2 separate regions of the Homo sapiens genome follow, and region 2 is linked to region 1. Evidence: promoter capture Hi-C in 16 types of primary human blood cells and fetal thymus (Javierre and others, 2016). All regions are on one chromosome and are shown on one strand. The core of a region is centred on a gene start or on the middle of the fragment in contact, and the rest is flanking DNA. Distances in the headings are between cores, read along the strand shown.

The links. The method cuts DNA at HindIII sites, captures the fragments that hold promoters and counts their contacts. A CHiCAGO score of 5 or more calls a contact.
Region 2: a fragment that was not itself captured here is called in contact with the fragment with the promoter of NDNF in region 1 in 1 of 17 cell types (monocytes); the score reaches 5.3 in monocytes.

Annotation. Positions count from the first base shown.
Region 1 is chr4:121,067,578-121,075,209 of GRCh38, forward strand. NDNF (neuron derived neurotrophic factor) reads right to left here and starts at 4,958. Exons shown (of 4, transcript NM_024574.4): 1 at 4,416-4,958. It overlaps NDNF-AS1 (NDNF antisense RNA 1), which reads left to right and starts at 3,785. Exons shown (of 3, transcript NR_187407.1): 1 at 3,785-4,003; 2 at 6,173-6,287. The HindIII fragment of the contact is 1,993 bases long and covers 4,267-6,259 here.
Region 2 is chr4:120,047,404-120,054,386 of GRCh38, forward strand. No RefSeq gene overlaps it. Among named protein-coding and RNA genes, the nearest start is that of MAD2L1, 16 kb to the right of the region's middle. RefSeq lists an enhancer at 2,296-2,675. The HindIII fragment of the contact is 3,886 bases long and covers 371-4,256 here.

The DNA of each region.
Region 1 (7,632 bases), core at 3,708-6,207:
CTCAATGAGTTCCTTGAAAAAAATTGGCATTGTAATAGGGCCAAATACCCAGCTGTTCTGTGGCCAAATTTGTCTCTTTATCCCAAAGTGAAAAATCTACAGACCATTTTGCTAGTTTGCTTTTATACCACATTGATCAAATTTGTTACCCTTAATTTTTAAAATCAAAACAAGCCACAACTTTTTTTATTGGGGGAATTAACATTATATATTACATGTTTTCCAAATATTTCAAAAGACTAAAATTCATGTGTTTGTTGGTTTGCAGTTTTTAGTAAAGTACCAGAAGGAAGGGGAAAGGTGTGGATATTGCTTCTTTGGGTTGTGTGTTTAGGAAGGAAGCAGCCAAGGATACACCTGCTTTTGGCACTGGCTTAGGCACTGGTACAGCAAATGCCAGGTGTCATCTCAGAAGAGGCAAGAAATACGTGAAATACACACAGCCAAGCAAACAGACTTACACTGAAATGGTGTGATTTTCAACAAAAATATAACTGAGTTTATGGTCAACATACCACCATGTGATACAATAAAGTATTAGCATTCTTGTTTTTCTGTCTCATACTACATGATTATTTTTTAACAACAGCAGCAAAGTATTTACTTTTTTTTTCTAGGAGGAAATTAACATGGAAGCTTGACTGCATGCATGCTGAGTGTCACGTAATGTTACATTTGTAATACAGTGGAAAAATACAGCAGAATTTATCCTAACTTCAGGGAATAAAATGCAAAGTATTTTAAAATAGAGTATTTAAATCCTGGAGGATTTGATTTTAAAATCAGCTTTCAAAGCAAAGATTTTGTGGGGTTTACTATTTACTATCAACCACGCTGTGGCTTCTATTAAATGATTATGAGCCCACAGGGGAAGAATAAATTGTGTTCTTTAGAATAATCATTCTAAAATAAACATTTAGAGGTTCTAGATATTATTTCAGGGTCAAATGAATTAGTTGAACTATTTTGTTGGTTATATTGGGTATCCCTGCCTTTGACCCAATACAGATGACTATGAGACATATTTTCTTCCAAGTGATTAGCTGATGGCCACTGACTGGCAAGGTTCAGCTGCTACTATAGGTGTATAGGTCCCCAAAGCAAGACCTGACAAGAAGGCAGGTAGCAAAAAAGTGAGACAGAGAGAGAGAGAGAGAGCACTACTTGGTCACTATCGACCACCTTATCATGGAGAAACTAAGGAAAGGAGATTAAAATAATCTTAATTAGCACATATGATGTGTAATTCACACTCTGTTCCTATGCTCTCGGTTGATTCAGTCATCATTATTCCATTTCCAATATCTGCTCATCCATCATACCAAAATGATAAGTCCTAACGACGACAACAAAAACACATTCAGTTTTAAAGTAAAAATTCTGACCTCTAGATAGGCTGAAGAGAATTGCTATAGAAATAAATATAGGAAGAGAAGAGATACACTTTATTTCTACTTTTCTCCCCTTCATGTCAAATAATTTGTTAGAGTTTTAAAATACATTTTTCTCCCTTCCACAACAGAGTCTGGTCGATAAATCCAAGTGAGAAAACTAAAATCTGAAACAACAAGGTTCACGCAGCCAACTAGAAAAGTCTCTACATTAAGCTGACGACTGACCTACTGTGGCTATTTCCAAGGTAGCATTCCATCGACCTGGTATTGGCAATGTTGTGACAATAGTCTTTACTCTTTAACATTCATACTTCACCATATGAATGTTAAACAGACCCAGGACAAATAAGCTGAGGGTGGGGGCTTCTCTTGTCCTTAGAAGGATATTTTTCAATTACATATTTTGTTACATCCTAAGAGATAAAAGCTGTATCTGCAAGTGATTAAAAGATGTTTTATATTCATGGTTTCATTTCTGCTGAAATAAATGCGTAATTTAAACCAAACATAATTCATAGCAATTTAGGCCTATTACAGAGTTCTAGCTTCTTTTTTATGATAGTTACTAATTAAAACAGAGTGTTACTGCCACACTAAGCCTAAGTCTTTGACATACAGGTTTAATGAATAAAATGTCCTGACACAAAAATGAAAGCAATAATGCAGACAAGGCTGCAAGCTGTTATGTTTCAAGTGTGTGGTAAAGATTAAGGGCATTCACTGAAGTGATGAACTGTGCAGAGAAGGACCTTGTAATTTCTTTCTCTAAAGGAAGAAGTAAAGGAATTTTTAGAGAAATCTGAAATAGTACTAATTTATCTAACTCCTAGGCCCCTCATTCCCAGTTGTCCCTCTCTCCCCTCCAAGAGTTTAAACTCATAAGAGTCACTTCTGAGGAATAAATGATGGGGTATTTTAATATAATCCTGAATATAGGTTTAGATTGAAAATGGGAATTGGGACCATAATTAATTATGTTGCCAAGTTTTTTAAACTTTAAGAAGACAGATGGAGGCAAATGACATTTTATAAGAGTGCAACCTTCTAAAAGATCATAGATTAAAACTGTGGTAAAACGACAGTATCTTTTTTGACATTTGATTAATCCCATATGCAGAATGACTGAAGAATTAATACGGTTTTGGTGTTTTCACTTTCTGAAACCACTGTAATAAGAGACTGACATAAACTCAAACCCCAGTATAAACACAGTCTGAGCGAAGGTTGCGGCCTTATTATCACTCTTAACAAACAATAATGAATAATCATACCGATCGCCCTCACTACACTCTGCTTTATATACATATTCCCTCTCGGATCCATCCATCACTTCTTTCAAGATAATAAAACAATTCAATCCCATCAAATCCCCTGCAACCGCTCCCTTGGGAGGGATGTTTTATCTCTACTTCTCCGAACCCAGGGAGGATTTTACTTGTTTGAAGGGGGCGGAGAATGGAGCGGAGTCCTATTTATTTCCATTGATGACTCCCCTGGTTCTCACAGGCGCTCAGGGACCGGGTGGGAGGAGGAGAGGAGGAGGTGCGGAGATTCCCTCCGTCAGAAAAGAAAAAGGGTTCAGGAAGCGAGGCAGCAGGAGGAGGGGTGGAGGGGGGAAAGAGAGGGTAGTGTGTTTGGGGAAAGCAGCAACTAAATGAAAAAATAAACTCTTCTTTGTGATTTAGCGGGATCGACAGATGAGAAGCAAATTTATCAACCCAACAAAGTTGCTAAAAAGAACTCTGTAAATAAATTTAAAGAAAAGAAGGAAAAAACATAACAACAACAACAAAACCCAGACATACACTCAGGTTCATTTCCCGCTCAAGGTCTTGGTTTTAGGGAGCCACCCGTACCCAAGAGCAAGAAATGGACAGCGCCCCGAAGGGGGCCAGGAGGGGAACCGCAACTTGGCCGGAGGGACAGCTCAGAGACAGCGTAGAGGTGCCCGCGGCAAACTCCGAGGAGCTGATGCGGGGCGGGTCCGGGGAACTGCCGGGAGCTCTCACGCCTGGGCCTGGGATAGGGTGCGGGCAGAAAGGTGAACCGAGAGCGCACAATGCAACGAAACCGCACTCCAAATTCAGCAGTTTGCAAAGTGCCTCCAAGAAAACAGCTGGGACCTGCAATCACTCGTTCGGACTCCTAGGTTATCGGGGCCGCGGCGACTCCGCTCAGTTAGAAAGGTAGCGCGGGTGAGAGCGAACCCCAACTCACGCACAGACAGGACGAGGGCACGAAGCCGAGTCTCCTGGCTGGGGCCGTAGGGGGCGTCACCTCGGTGGCCGCTCTGCTCTCCGGAAGAAAGTATGAGCCGGTCCCAGGCCACCTCGCTCAGCCCAAGGAAGTTTCTATAACGATGCTCGCCTACCACGCAGAGGACAAATGAGGAGCCAGAGCGGTTGGGGGTCGGGCCAACCGAACTCCCGGCCCCGGCTGCGCAGCTCCCAGACGCCCACCAAGAACTCGTGCGCTGCCTGGACCTCTAGCTTTTCGCCCTACACGCAGACGCCCTCTGCAAAACCCCAGTCCCGCAGACTTTCCCTAGCGGCGGGCGGAGGGCATGAACCTGGAAAGGGAGGCAACAGCCCTCTTGGCAGGCGGGCAAAGTAAGTGTCCAGGCTAAGTCCGGGATAAAGGCTCCGCGGCTCCCCAGACCCCACTGCACCCCGAGCTCCCGGGTCCCAGGTCTTCCCCGCCCTTGCGCTGTCTGTCCACCTCCTCACATCTCTCCGGGCCGCCCAGCTTCGAAAGCAGCTAAATTAAAAACAAACAAACAAACAAACAACAACAACAATAAAAAAAAAAAAACGAGGGAAACCTGCTCCTGCCCCTCATGCCCTCAGCTCCTACGGATAGGGCGCCCTTGAGAAGCTTCTTGGGCCTTGAAGATTTGGGGGCGCGTGCCTCGAGCCCCCATCTCGGATGACCCTTCGGGCGTGAACGCTCCTTGTGCTAGGTCTCAGGGTGGCGGGCTAAGGCGTCGGGTCTCTGGGGCATTGCTTTCCTCTCCCCACTTACCTTAAAAAGATCTGTTTTTCGTAGGGAAAATAGAAAAAAATCCCTCCCCGTGGTGTGGTGTGCGAAATAGTCCACGTCCCCGGACCCTGCCAAGATGCTAAGCACCAATATCCAGGAACGAGAAGCCTGGAGGGCGGGGACGGAGGCAGATAAAAGAGAAAAATTCAATCCGCTGAAGTGTCCCAACTTTGCGGTCGGCACAGCAAACTTCAAAGGCGGGCGAGGGCGGGCGGCGCGCGGTCGCCGAAGTTGCTGCGAAGTGGAGTAGGGAGCCGCGCGGGGCTGGGGAATCCCGGGGCAGCGCCGAGAAGCGGCGGGAGGTCCTTTTAAACTGCAGGGAGCGTGCGGGGGCTGGGCGGCGGGAGGATGCCGCAGCGACCCGCGGGGCTGGCGCGGGCTTCGCCGGCCGCCGCTAGTCGCACAGGCGCCTGGCTGGAGCGCCGCGCGGGGTGCTGGGAGAGCCGGGCGCACGGGGCGGCAGCGGCCGTGGCGGGTGCGCTGCTCAGTTAGCTCCACTCTCTCGCGGCTGGAAGTGGGGAGTGTGTGTTCGCTCCCGAGTGTCACTGCTGAAGCCCGGAGTCTCTTCCCCTCCCAGCCCTAACCCCTCCCGCCTCACCGCTGCCCGCCCGCCCCCTCCCTCCTCTGCCCGTTGCCTCCCCCTCCGTCCCTCCTTCTCTCCCTCCCGCTGCGCGCCAGCGCGCACGCACACACACACACACACACACACACTCATACACATACACACACTCACACACAGACACCCTCTCCCTCCTTTTCTCTCTCCCTGTAGCCCTCCCTCCCTCTCTTTCTCTCACACACACACCACCCTGCTCAGCGACCCAGCGCTCCCCAAACAGGACCCTCGCGGGCGGCATCGCGAGGGACACGCTGCTGTCCTAACCTTAGCGCCACTCGGGGAGAATGAAGGAGGCCCACCGAGCCCCCGACAAAGCTGCAAAACCCAGGAGACGCGCACGCGGGACCATCACACTGTCAAGCAGACCGGGGTGCACAATAGAGGGAAACTCTGGGGTTGATCTGGGGGCAGGGAGGGGGACGTGTTAAATCCAGAAGGTTGGTGGTTGGAGGCGGAAAGCAGAGTGTGCAAACTGTGCATTCATGTCCCACTTTTCACCCGAACGCCTGCCTATCACAGCCTTCACTCAGGGAGCGCTTCCCCCTCGGCGCAGACCGAGCCTCCTCCGATTTGAAACTCAGCAGCTGTTTTAACAATTGAAAAAGCGGCCCTACAGGACCAGTGAAACGGAGCAGAGTGTGTGAAGCCATTAAGGCTGACTAGGTAATTATGATAAAAAGTTACCTAATTAGCAACCTGGCCTGGGCTTAGGAAAACCAAGAAAAAAAAAGTACCGAATGATTTGGTGATCTCATTTTTGCAACTGAGAACCTGATTTCCAGCAAACCTGGTTTTATATAAGTTCTAATAATATATAATTATTTATTAAGATATAGTGTCAGTATTGAAAACACTAGTTCTGTTATTGCCACAATGAAATTAAGGTAGGTAGGATGAAAATCAGCCTTATCCCGGTCATATTAAGAACTATGATCTTTTTTGCTAAACAGTTGGTCACAGAGGGTGGACCAATGCAGCTCCTAAAGTTTTGTGGTTCCTAGATGAAAACACTGCAGGAAATGGATTTATAAAACCGTTTACACGACATAAAATAGTTTTGTAAAATTTTTAAACACTGAAAAGGACATTTCAGATCACTGTGCAAGCATATTTTTTGCAGATGAGACAATGAGGTGAGAAAAGTCCTCATTGTATCTCCACTTAGGAGATACGATCTAGAGCAGATCCCTGGGTCATTCATTAACAAAGCTTACGAAGTCCCTGCTGTGTACCAGGTATGTCTTATGTGCTGAGATTTAGAGGTGATGGTGCTGCCTTTAAGGAACTCACCGCCTGGTGAGGAGACAGAGGCATAAATGAAAATGTGATTAGCACTATAATAAGTGCAGGTACCTGGTCCTGTGGAAGCATGGAAAAGGAAACAGCTAACTCCCCTTCAGAAGCTTCTCTTGGTAGAGATTTCAGTGTAGAGTTCTGAAAGACAAGGAAGAAATACAAGGCCAACAAGGATGTGGTGGAGGGGGGAGGGCATTCCACAAACAGAAGCAAGTGAAGAGGTTAGGAAAGTGTCAAAGTACATGGTGTGTCCTGGAAACTAGGAGACTAGGTGCGGCTAGACTGCAGGTGAAGTAAGCAAGGCCAAGCCACACAAGGCTCTCTGGGTGTAAGGAGCCAGAACTTGCCTGGAGGTGGTGAGTAGTTGGGAAACTGTTAAAGGTGTTAAGCTAGGACAGATTCTAAGGTTTGTAAGTATTATTAGATAATGTGTTTTAGAAGGTTTCCTCTGGTTTCACTGTGCAAGACAAATAGAAGAGAGATCACAGTGAGGTTATTTCCAGAGGAAAAATTAGGTCTGAACCAAGGCAGCAGAAATGCTGTTTGGGAGGTTAGGACAGCTCTAGAGATATTTAGGAAATAGAATAGACAAGGCTTAGTGATTGATTGGACATAGAGGGTAATGGAGAGAAGAGAGTCTAGACTGACTCCCAGTTTTCTGGCTGGTGCGCTAAGGCAGGGATGGTGCCACTAGCCAAGAGAAACACACAGAGAGGAGCAGTTTTAGGAGGAATGTAATGAGTTCTGTCTTAAACTTGTGGAGTTGGGGGTGCCTCTGTGACATCTGAGTGCCCTGCCATTTAGGCAGCCAAAAGGAAAGTTCCTAGGAGGGTAGACAGGAGCTGGAAGGATACATTCAGGTGTCTGGCAAGCATGGGGGAGGAGTAAGGCAGCCAGGAAGAGAAGACTTAGGATGGGACATGGCAGACACCAATGTCTTAGACATGGATGAAGGAAGAGGACCCTGCAAAAGAAAGGGATGAACACCAGAGAAGAAGGGCAACAGAGTAGGACCAATGAAGCCAAGGGAGGACAGGGCTAGTGACCAGGGTAGAAAGAGGCAGACAGATGGAGACAACTAGACTGAAAAGCTGCTGCTCTTATTTACAAAAAGTCTTGGTATTCTTGACCAATGCAATTTTAGTTTATGCTGCATGTATATGAGGATCACTTCCCTCTTTGGTACATTGGGGCAACACTATCTACCCCCATGCATTTCACAGGGTTGATTGGGAATTCAAATGAACCAGTGATTGGGGTATTGATTTAAAATTGCCATTAGGA
Region 2 (6,983 bases), core at 1,064-3,563, 1.0 Mb before region 1:
TTACTTTAAATGTAAATGCATTAAACACTCCAATTAAAGGATTGGCCAAATGGATTAAAAACCATAATCCAAATATATGTTACGTGCAGGAGGCTCACTTTATTTTTTTTTAATTTTGAAATTTTTTATGAGATATGGGATCTCACTATGTTGCCCAGGCTGGACTCGAACTCCTGGGCTCAAATGGTCCTCCTGCTTCAGCCTCCCGGGTTGCTATCACTACAGGCATATACTACTGCGCCTGACATTGAGATTCACTTTAGATCCAAAGGCACAAATAGATGGAATGTGAAAGAATGAAAAAAAGATGTTCCATGCAAACAGTAACCAGAAGCGAGAAGAGATGGCTATACAAATATTTTTTTAAAAAAGCTTTAAATCAGAAAAGACAAGAACAAGAGACAAAGGAGGAGACAAAGAAGGACATTGCACACTTAGAGGGTTCAACCCAGCAGAAGTTATAACAAGTATAAACATGCATGCATCTAAAAACAGTCAATTAAAATACATAAAGCAAAAACTGAAAATTGCATGGATAAATAATCAGTTCTACAATAATAGTTGGAGATTTTAATATCCCACTGTCAATAATGAATAGGACAACCAGACAAAAAATAGGTAGGAAATAGTGAACTTAAACAACACATGAATCAGCTATATCTATCAGACAAAATTATGATTACAAAAAGAAGCATGGTGGTTACCAGGGGCTGGAGGGAGGGGAGAATGAGGGGTTATTGTTTAATGGTAATAGCATTTCCATTTTACAAGATGAAAAAGGTTATGGAGATGGATGGTGGTGATGGTTGCCCAACATTATGAATGTATTTAATACTACTGATTGTACACTTAAAATAATATGATGGCAAATTTATGTTATGTAAAAAACAATTTAAAAAACTAGAAAAAAATGAGAAAAAAGCCAATAAAAATTATTCTTGTTATTTATTTTAATTTGATAGATGAGCTCTTAATAGAATAACAGTGACAGAGTCTGTGTCTCAGTCAGCTCAAGCCACCATAACCAAATCCCATAGACTGGGTTACTTAAACAACAAAAGTTTATTTCTCACAGAAAAAAATTATTTCTCACAGGAGGTTTAAAGTCCAAGATCAAGGTGCTGGCATTTTCAGTTTCTGGTAGGGGCTCTCTTTCTGGCTTGTAGACAGCCACTTTTTAACTATATTTTTACATGGCAGGGAGAGAGAGAGGTGAGGGCGTCAATATATGAATTTAGGGGGACACAATTCAGTCCATAGCAGTCTCTCATTTATTTCTTTAAACTGAATTTTCACCCTAAAAATCACATAGAAGAGATAGTACAAGGTGATGCTATGCCAGTAATACCAACATTTAAGCACATCACAAAGACAAAACTACACTATTTCCTCTTTCTCTCTTTCTCTCTCTTTCTCCCTCTCTCTCTTTCTCCCTCTTTCTTTTCTATTTTCTTAATTCTATTTTTTCTCTTAAAATTTTTAATCGATGATAAAATGTCTGTATAGAAAAGGAGGTTGTATACTGTTAAGAGCATGAGCTCTGGAATCAAACTACTACCTGGTTTTGAACCCCTGATCATTACTCACTACCTATGTGACACTGGGAAAACCAGTTATACTATTAAAGCCTCCATGTCCTCATCTGCAAGACAGAGATGATGATAAGTTACCTCATAGGGTTGTTATGAATTTTAAATAATACCATAGAAAACTTTCTATGGTACCCAACATAGCAATCTCTCAGCTAATGTCAATTATGCTTATGGGAAGACTTTACATTTCAAAATAGCAAGCAATATTACAGATATTCTTCCATGACCAAAGGGAAGGCAGAGAGAAAAGGTAGTAAAGTCAATCGAGCAACTACAGGTGGCCAAGCTCTTTGCCAGGTAGTTCATGTACATCATTTGCATTTCCTCGAAGTAGCCTTATGAGATAAGAATTTTCATTTTTACAGATGGAGAAACTGAGGCTCCATCAGTTAAGTAACCAAGAGCCACATACCGAACAATTCAGAGAGTCCAGTGTGTCTGATTCCAAAGTCACATGGTGTTTCCACAACGAAACATTGTTTCCTCCCAGATGTGTGTTGGCTCGGGGGGCAGGACTATATTTTAAAGCACATCGCATTTAGGCAGGCTCCTAAATTATTTAGCTGGCATGTACATGCGAATATCGTCATCATCCTTCAGCGTTTGTATTCGGTGCTCATACTCCACTCAATCTCTCCTCCCCAAAATGGCTGGTTCTGGAACCCCTAAGCACTTGGCAGCATGTTACCAACTCTCAGACAGGAAGTTTTCATTCTCTTCCACAGTTGATAGTCGATGCCTGAGACTTTAAGGAGCCACACCGCGGGCTTGAGAGACGCTGGGAGTCGCAGTCAGGACTGCGAAAGAACTCAAGTGATGATTCACCTCCTGAGGTCTACTTGCTCACATCTCTATGGCAGATACCGGGCTGCGAATTGTGGCTCCCTTTTGACTAAACCTTTTCACTCCCTGCTTAGCCTGGTCTCTATCCTGGGTCACTGCCACTGTGAGTAGTTTCGCTTCTAATTCTGGCCATCTGGACCTCTACTTCCCAGTTCCTGATTTTTGCCTCCACAAAGTGAAGGATGCCCAGGCCCTGAGAGCAAGCACGTACTCCACTGCCCTTTGCTGCCCTCTGCTGACCATAACTGGAAATGATGGTTACTCTTTCAGGCCCTGTCTCAAGGCAGGTACTACAGTGAGAAGAACGAAGCCTGGAACACAAAATTTTGAGGGTGAGCCCCCAAACTAACTAAATTAGATAAATAATATTTTAATGCAATAGTTTTAAAAGTCAAAATAACTGTAAAAAATACATGATGAACAAAATATGTAAATGTACCCTAAATCATACTCCTAGCTTCTGTGTACACAAGCCATGGCATCTGTCTTTTTATTAAAGGGAAAGTCCTAGTATCACAGTAGAAAACCATGCTACCAGTATTGATCACCTTTTTTCCATCATTCACATAGATTTTTAAAACTCACAAAATTTAGAAGAAATAAACAGCAAAAATGAGAACGTCCAAGTGGAGCAGATATACTAGGTGACTCCTGAAGAAAGTAGGTAATTAAGAGAACAGAAGAAAAATTGATCTTTCAACAAATATTAACATCTTCATAGTTAAGAAGCAAATGAATGGGTGGCTAGAATCAAGCACAGTAAAAAATGTTTATGTTTTATGTTTAATTTCTTGGATATTAAAGATATAGGCTAAATGAATAATTTCATAAGAAGGCTTGAAGATTGAGTTTATGGACTCCTTTTCTATCTTGTCACTTGGAACATTCATCGTTCAGTATTAATGAACTAGATTACATTTTCTCCCCTTAATAGGTAGACTCATGCTATTTGATCAATCAATAAGGGGTAATTCAATAATCAGGATAATGAAAATGCTATTTCAATTTGTAGAGTCAACAAATCAACGAAACTGGAAGACAATAATAACTATAAAAGAGAATCTAACTAGTATTAAAATTGATAATGGAAAAAACACAAAAGTCTGAATGTTAAGGTAGCAGAGAGATGTGGCCAGCAATGTCAGACACAAATTCTTGTACCTTCTATAGCAAGGAATCAACATACTAAAATTGATGTAACAAAATATAGAGCTTGAACATATTCTTTAAAATTATAAAGATAACCACCAGAAGAAAATAATATGACTAGAAAAACTCAGGAGTAGATGGATAAAGAAATACGAACTAAGTTTCTCATCTTTCAATAGATGTGACCTAAAGTTGAAAAACAACAACAAAAAAAATAGTAATATTAACATATGCTTAAAGGTATGGTGATAACCACTAACAGAACAAAACATGTTTGAAAATAAGGAGCTAGATTAGACGTGGGGAGTGGGGGAATGAAGACAGGTGGATAATTTACTCTTCACTTGGTACCATTCTGTACTGTTTGATTTTATTAACTTATGAGCATATTAATTTTACACTATAAAAGTTAAAAAAATGAAAACAAAACTTTCTGCAGCTGCAGCTCTTGGCACTATTTCTTTCCCCAGCTGCAGTCACTCTCCTCATACTCATGGTTAGGTCCAATTGAGACAGGAAGAAATTAAAGGGCAACAGAAAAAGTACCTGCCCTGAAGTTCAGGGTTTCTGGGGTCTTCTTTCAATTTACTGTGTTCTGTCTTTACAGGGGCCTAATTCTTTGGAATACTAACTTTTGACTATTTCAGTCCATCAGATCTAGAATCTCCTTAAAGCTTTGCTAAACTTTGACATCATTCTCTTATTTCTTGAGAAGAGTAAGCTTGACTCCCTGGCTCTTTCTGTGATCCTTGAGTTTTAACTTCTTTTTTTTTTTTTTTTAATTTTGACTATGGTTAACTATTGGTCAGCTGGGACCAACCTGACCTGCCCAGGTAGGAATGAAAAGCATATGGAATAGTGGTGACAATTACTATTATCTGAATAAATACAATATGATATATTATTAAGTTAAAATAGTGCTAAGGGAGTAGAGTGATGGTCACTACTCCATTCCTCATGTTTCCACAAAGGAGAGACTTCACGCTCCTAGAGAGAACGCACCTGAAGATATTTGGGAATAGAGGTTTAATCTAGACTAATCACAGTCTTGCACTGAAGTGCTAAAAGCATGAAATGCAAGACATGAAGAAATCAAAACATCTAAATTTTCTAAGAAGGAATAATGTCTCAAATGTCATTCACTGAGAAAGTAGGTAATATACATGGGGAGTTTGCCAGAAGCATTGCCACTACACCTACCACCACCACCACCACACACACACATACACACACACACACTAAACATGTGGAAGCATAATTGTTGATGGGCAGTTTCTGCTCAGTGTATATAGATTTACAGCCTGTGAACTCTTGACACTGGCACCGCTGGCTGGCCCTCCCTGGAACAGAAACCCAGCTGTTTTCAGGTCCTTCTGTCTACAACACAGGTACCATTAAGTTATCTGCCATGCTCTTTGGGTGGCGACAACCGTGTCAAAAAAGATTACACCATTCACTTAATTTGGGGACCATAATTTTGCTTGTAATAACTTACATAGTGGAGCCACAGTTTCTTTTGTGATTAGTTACCCCTTGGAGAGCTGAATTACTTAGAAATTTGAATTAATTTTGAAAAGACTGAAGAAGCTGTAACCATTCCTATGAAAGACGGCCCAGGTTATAGCTGAACTTATAGGAACCCAGAGATCAGTGTAAGACCCTCTGGCTGAGAATGAGCCAATTGTATAGAATTGGGAATGAAGGAATTTGACCTTAATTTCTATGGGCTTTTCATTTGCAAGGGAATTTAGTCTGGAGGGTTAAAAAATGAGAAGAGTTTCATATTGTTCAACTTTAGAATATTTTTATGTTGTTGATCTGGTCTTGGCATTCATGAATACATTCATGAATGTATACATGAATATAAAATGAATACATTCATTAATTCTGGACAACATGACTGAGCATAATCAGTAATAGGAAATAGAATGGGGAATACATTTTCTGCTTAGGGTGCTGCATGCAGTTCTGTCTGACTCATGTTGCTAGAGACTTTTGTTGGCAAAAAGCGAAATGCCCATTGGCAGCTCTGGAGGGAATTAGTGTGGAAAGAAGGAGGGTTTAGGAAAGTGAGAACATGACGGCCCTGTGAGCAAGCAACTTCCCTGCTGAGAGGAACAGCCCACCCTGGCTTACTTCCAAGTTGCTTAAGTCCAGTGGGTTATGACATTGTTTCCCAGCCTTCCTTCATATGTGGCCTTCGTGTCTGCATATCGCTCACACTAATACTGATATAATATTTTTCCTTAAATATTGTGTATACTTTTAAAATCTTTCGCTCAATTTTTTACTCATGATAAACAATGTTACATATTTTTCTGATTACAACATATATATTACTAAAACTTTTTAAAAAAATGCCTGTCATCATGCTACCTAAAATCAACTTACATAATGCCAGTGGAACACACACTGTAATATACCAAGAGATGAAAAAGCTGGCAAATAGCAGGAGGGATGCTTGTTACTCCACTCTTAGGGTTTCTGTTCCAATCCTGATGACAGAAAACAGCACTGGAGTAACGTTCTGGGGCCCTCTCTCCACTTTTTCTCTCAGCCCATCCCAAGCAGCAAAGAAGAAATTTTTCCATGGCTTGTAGCAGCTCGAGTACAGTGCTTTCTAATTTTGCCCTTGGCAATTCAGCATGCAAGGCTTCCTCCTAGGTTGGAGTTGGGCTGGAGAAGGAAGAATGAAGTTGTCTGGCCCTTCCACCTGTGACTACACAGGCTGCTTGGTTCACTTAAGAAGGAGTAGCAAACCCTATTTCTGACTTAAGTGTAAGGCTCATTCTCCAATCCAGCTTTACTATAGAGTGCTGTAATTTGGGTAATAATACATATAATAAATTTCAATCTTCTTCTGTTTCCTGCATCTATGTCTCAAGTTGGTTAAAACTCACAAAGTAGAAGGATCAGGATTACATGTTAAACACAAATTCCAACACACCTTTGGTTACAAAAACAAGTGAAAGAATTAGAGAAGAAATGTTGCTGGAAAGAAAATGAATGCTCCTGTTTTAAAGCAAAATGCCCTGTGTGAACATTTAATGGCAGTATTATGAAAAGTTAATGCAATATTCAAATATTTTGACTACAAGTTCTTACTTCCTCAATTTGGAGTGAGATTCACACGGTATTCTAGTCTTTTTGTAGCTAAGTCTGGAGCAGGAGAACCCTCCTCTGTCCCCTAGACTCTGAGAGGAAACAAGATATAATAAAAGGATTTGGTTCCTATTGGTTTGGGAATTGGGCCAGCACATGGATTCTGGATGTTTGCAGTTGGGCAAATTACTTAACCTTCCTGAATCTTAGTTCTTAAATCTATAAAGTGGGGATATCAATTCTCACAGGGTTGTTGCAAGGATTGAGATAATGCATGTAATGAATGAATTTGAAGAC